2 separate regions of the Homo sapiens genome follow, and region 2 is linked to region 1. Evidence: promoter capture Hi-C in 16 types of primary human blood cells and fetal thymus (Javierre and others, 2016). All regions are on one chromosome and are shown on one strand. Each heading gives the region's core, a stretch centred on a gene start or on the middle of the fragment in contact. The rest is flanking DNA. Distances are from core to core; before and after follow the strand shown. Region 1 holds the start of COL27A1 (collagen type XXVII alpha 1 chain). Region 2 overlaps COL27A1 (collagen type XXVII alpha 1 chain).

Region 1 (2,700 bases), core at 172-2,671:
ACAGCCCTAACAGCCTCTGGGGAGTGTCCTGGTGTCCTGGGGGCAGGATGGAAAGAGAGGAGCGCCGTCCACAGGCCCCAACGGGCTGCTTGCATGCTGCTGGCTCCCACACACACCCACACGCTGCGCCGGCTCCAGCACAGGCTCACTCTCTCTTACAACTCCTACTCCACACGCTGGGAATCCCAGCCTCTGGGCCCCAGCTCCGCGCAGCCGCTCCTGGGAGAGTCCCTGCCCCTCTCCGGCCCTGTCTCCCGATCTGTACACTGAGGGGTTCCGCACAGTGATCGCCCAGGGCCCTTTCTGCTCTGACATGCTGGCTCTCACTTTTTCTCTCTTACACACGTGAAAGGGACAGGAACCGAGAAGCAGGAAACACAGACACACAGACCCAGGCCGACTAACACAAACACGCGGAGATTTCCAGAAACGCGGGGACGTGCAGAGCCACACAGACACGGAGACAGGAGCAGAACCCGAGACCTGGTGACCTAGAAACTTGCGGACAATTTCACAAGAACAGATAGAAACGGAGACGTACAGGCTTGGGACCTGCAGACACTGAGACACCGGAACACACCGAGACGGCCCCAAACGGAGACCCCCCTCCTCCCCCAAGCATCCAAAAAGCCCCCCTCCGCACCCCGCCGGCCGCTCCAGGCGCCACCACCCACCCCCACCCCCGACCCCCGGGCTGGCTCTGCCCCCGCCCCAACGGGATCGGGCAGCCGGGCCAGGCGCGGCAGGGCGGGCAGCGTTCGCCAACTCTCGCCCGGCCGGGGGCGCAGCCCCTATTAACCCTTGGCGTCCCGCCTCGCGGGGGCGCAGGAAGGGGCAGGAAGCTGACGTTCCGCTGGAAGCGACCGCATGGCGGGGAACCCCGGCCCTCCCCGAGATTGGAGCAGCAGGAAGCTAGGGAGGGGGCGTCCCCGAGTTCGTACTCACCCCCCGCGCGCCGCCGCCGCCGCCGCTGTGCCTCGGGCCCCCCGCGCCGATCCCGCTCCCATGGCAGGCCCCTACTTCATGCTCCCGAGCCCGGGGGGCAAGTGTGGGCGCGCCCCATGGGGCCGCCAGCCCCCCGCCCCGCCGCGCCAGGCCGGCTTAGAGCGCGCGGCCCCCGCGCCCCCAGCGCAGCCCCGCGCCCAGGGGCGCCCGAGCAGGCAGGCAGCGCGGCTGGGGCCCCGCGGGCGCCCGCGCCAGGCCCATGGTCCCAGGAGTCCGGGCGCCGCGCTCGCCCCTGCCTCGGTCCTTTTCTGCTTCCACCAAAAAGGAAGAAGAAGCAAGAAAAAGAGAGAGAGAGATGATCAAACTTTTGGAGGCGGGCTGCTGGCGGTCCCCGGAGGCAGAGCAAGGCCGGGTGAGGGCGCGCGGAGGGCGGTGGAAGCTGCCTCCCCGCCGGCCTGGGGGAGGAGAGGAAAAGGAAGGATTTGGGGGAAATGAAGGCGATTTAAAGTCTCGGCCCGCGGTGGCTCTCCACCTTCCCTCCTCCCCGCTCCCGGCCGCCCTCTGCTGCCCCCTGCTGCCCCCTGCCGGCCGGAGCCAAGGGTACAGCCTCAGCTGGCCCACTACAGCCCCGATGGGACACCCGCCCCCCTCCTCCTTGTATAGATGGGGAAACAGATTCACAGAGAGGAAGGGGCTGCCCAGGGCTTCACGGTGATTTGATCACCGTTCTGAGATTAGGAACTTCTGACTGGTGAGGCTGGGGGTCCTCCAATGGGGGGTTGGGGTAGGGGAGAAGGGCCAAATTCTACTCCTGGAAGAAACCCACAGTTTCAGGGACGGAGCTAGGACCAGAACTTGGTGTCCAGACGCCCACGACAACCAGTATCGTGATCCCCACCGCCCACCAAAAGTTTGCGCTCCCAGACTCGGAGCGCCCTGGAGAACATATAGGGTGGGCTTGTTAAGGGTTTGCCACCCTCTCTCTCCCTTCTGTCAGCAATTGGAATCTAACCGCACCCCACCACCACCACTAACCACGCACCTCCCCAGAATCGACAAAAACTCCCTCGGATCCCATCCGGGAGCTAAGAGCTGCACACCTTGGCCCCCGGGCAAATTCTCACACCCAAAACTCCAGTCCAGCCCTGGGACCACAGCTCCCTCCGCCTCTACCACCTCTTGCCACTCGTTCACGAGCAAAGTTACACTTATTCACCGGTGCACACACACACTCCCACACGTATCCACCCTTTCCCCAAACTCAGACACACGCTCACACACGGTCCCATTCTGGGACAGCCACGCACCCTTCCTAGGTTCACACGAAACGCATCCTCAGATATCTGGGCTCAGGCGCACGCTGATACTCTACACTCGCAGAAGCATGCACACGGATGCTTACACAGGCACAAATGCACGCTATCCTGGCCATATCGCCCCCACACATGTACACACCCCGGGTGGACACACGCGCGCACACCCTCACTTGCACACAGTTCTCCGAGAGTGCCCACCGCACATGTGCACACACGCATTCACTCCTCACGCGTGTACCCACCTCCCCATACGCGCACACCTTTAGGCGCGCGCACACACAGGCATATAACACTTCGCACCGCTCCAGGAGCCCCCAAGCACTTACTGGGTCCCTACGTGCGAGGCTGGCCGGTCGGTCCTTCCTCCGGCGCCTAACGGCATTTGTATTCATGGGTCCCCGCAGCCGTGGGCGCGGGGGCGGGGGGCGAGGTCCCCTTC
Region 2 (2,700 bases), core at 26-2,525, 140 kb before region 1:
GCCCCTCATTTGTGCCTAGGGGTGGACTTCAAGAGTGGGGCGATGGGGGCAAGAGTGAAAGCGGGGAAGGATGGGGGCTGAGCTGGTGGGAACGGCAGGAGTGAAGGTGGGAACCAGGCCTGTGGGCAGAAAGGGCTCATGAGTCAAGGAGCAAGAGGAGGATGAAGACAGGCCAGCTGATGGCTGGCCAACCTTGGGCCTAGGACAATCATCTCTGCTCCGACAGCAGGGAGGGAACTCACCATCAAGCCAGGTGGCCCCCGAGGGCCCTGGATGCCTTTGAAGCCAATGTCTCCAGGCGGGCCCTGTGGGAGGCAGAGAAAGGGCTGTCTGTACTTGGCAGCCACTGGGTAAAGGGCCCCCACAGCTCCCTCACCCCTGGGGTCTGTCAACCTTTGCCCTTCTTGTCAAGAGAGGCCTTACCTGAGAGGCCCCAGAAGGAGTAAGAAACACCTACAATTATTCAGCAGGTACCAGCAGTGTGTTGGCTCAGTGCTGTGTGGCATATGCCCCTGGTCTTTATTTTTGCAACAGTCTTCTACTGTCATTGCTCCCATTTTACAGATGAGGAAACCAAGGCTTAGAGAGACTAAGTGACTTTGCAAGGCACAGAGCAGGTAATTGTGTAGCTGGGCTTGGAACCTAGATCTTCTGGAGTACTGGGGGATGAGGGTGTTCATGCCTGATTCTGGCTGTTTTCCAGCCAATGTTTTCAGTGCTCCATAAATATTTGTTGAATGAATAAATGAATGAATGGGGTGAATGGATGGGACCCCACAGGAACAGTGAGCCGTGGGAGTCCATACCTTGGGTCCGAAGAGACCTGCCATTCCTGGGAAGCCCATCTCGCCAGAGTCGCCCTGCAGGAAGAACAGGAAGTGATGGAGCGAGTGAGCTCATGGTCAGCGTGTCCCGCCAGCCACCTGGGACCTCAGGGCCTGCCTTTTCCCTCCCAGCCTTTCCAGGGATATCAGTGACTCCTCTGTGAAGCGACCAAGTGAGTGTGAACAGCTCACAAACTAGATGCCAGTCCGCCTGGGCTCTGAGGGGAGCCTGTGCTCTCCGTCAGATGAGAAAGAGGAGCCCGGCTCAGGGATTCCACAGAGGAGGCTCTGCCACACTCAGGAGCTCCTGTCCCAGGTCTTCAAGGGACAGAATAAAAGGGCCTGCAGCCTCCTCCCACAGCTCTGAAAAGCTCTGTTAAGGAAGGATTCCCCTAAAAACTAAAAATAACCCAGTTCACTGAGGGCCTGTTAGGTGCCGGATGTTTTGCCTGGACCGCCACACTTCCATGCTCCCACATCAACCCAGGGACACACCATATCCCCTGTTTACAGATGAGGAAACAGGCTCAGAGAGGGCAGGAACTTGCTAAAAGTCACGCAGACACCATGTTGTGGACTGTGCTAGATTCAAACCCAGTGTGAACGATTCCAGGAACCTTTGGCCTCCTTTCCTGACCTCTGCTCCCAATCTTGTAAAGGGTTAGGAGAGCAATTGGCAAGGGGGCATGCTGGGGTCTGAGCCAAGAAGGGAGGGCTGGGGGCCCCTGGAGGCAGAAGAGCCTGCCATTATTACACATTCTTGGGGCTTGGCCTTCAAGCTCATAAGCAGAAAGCCATGTATTAGAATCTCCTAGCCTTATATTATAAGACCAGGAGCAAGTCACCTCCCTTTACTGAGCCTCAGTTTCCTCATCTGTAAAATAGGATAATACGTCATCTCCCTCCCAAGGGGCTGGAAGGATGCAATGAGACCAGGCAGGTCAAGACCCAGTGCTGATGGAGGTAGGCTGAGGGGTCAGGCTTCGGGAGGGTCCCATTTAATCTAAATTCTACCTGTTCATTTTTAAAAGATAATAGCTTTATTGAGCTATTGGTGGTTCTCTTGGTGGTTTTCATTTGTCTTATCAATGCTTATTGGATATTTGTGTATCTCCTTTGGAAAAAATGTCTACTTGAATACTTTGTCCGTTTTAAATTTGGATTGTCTTTTTATTCTTGAGTTGTAAGGGTTCTTTATATATTAGAGATACATGTTCCTTATCAGAGATATGATTCGTAAATACTTTCTCCCCTACTGTGAGTTTTTTCACTTTCTTGATGGTGCCTTTGGAAGCACAAAAGTGTTTGATTTTGATGAAGTCCAATCTATGTACTTCGCTTTTGTTGGTGTCATATCTAAGAAACTATTACCTAACACAAGGTTATAAAAATGTGTTTTTATGTTTTCTAACAGTTGTACAGTTTTAGCCTTTACATTGGTCTATACTTCATTTTTAGCTAATTTTTGCATGTGGTGTGAAGCAGAGGTCCAAATTACTTCTCTGGTACGTGATATGTGATTGTGTGATTGTCTCAGCACTGTTTATTGAAAAAAAATTCTTTTCCCATTCAATTGCCCTAGCACTCTTGCTAAAAACAACAGACATAAATGTAAGGTTTTATTTCTGTCTTGATTACTATACTTTTGTAATAAGTTTTGAAATTGGGAAGTGTGAGTTGTCCAACTTTGATCTTCTTTAAAGATCAAAATTTTGGCTATTCTGGGCCACTTGCATTTCCATATGAATTTTAGGATCAATTTGTCAGATTTCGTTAAAAAGTCAGCTTGGATTTTGATAGGGATTATATTTAATCTGTAGCTCTGTTTGTGGTAAGTATAGCCATCTTAACCACACAAAGTCTTCTGACCTATGAA

What was found. The method cuts DNA at HindIII sites, captures the fragments that hold promoters and counts their contacts. A CHiCAGO score of 5 or more calls a contact.
Region 2: a fragment that was not itself captured here is called in contact with the fragment with the promoter of COL27A1 in region 1 in 6 of 17 cell types (endothelial precursors, M1 macrophages, M0 macrophages and 3 more); the score reaches 12.3 in endothelial precursors.

Annotation. Positions count from the first base shown.
Region 1 is chr9:114,154,258-114,156,957 of GRCh38, reverse strand. It overlaps COL27A1 (collagen type XXVII alpha 1 chain), which reads right to left and starts at 1,421. Exons shown (of 61, transcript NM_032888.4): 1 at 946-1,421. The coding sequence starts at 1,007. LOC105376225 (a long non-coding RNA gene) reads left to right here and starts at 2,690. Exons shown (of 5, transcript XR_930256.3): 1 at 2,690-2,700. RefSeq lists silencers at 255-549, 1,437-1,556. The HindIII fragment of the contact is 6,106 bases long and covers 1-2,700 here.
Region 2 is chr9:114,298,230-114,300,929 of GRCh38, reverse strand. It overlaps COL27A1 (collagen type XXVII alpha 1 chain), which reads right to left. Exons shown (of 61, transcript NM_032888.4): 50 at 807-860; 51 at 243-305. Among named protein-coding and RNA genes, the nearest start is that of ORM1, 24 kb to the left of the region's middle. The HindIII fragment of the contact is 8,509 bases long and covers 1-2,700 here.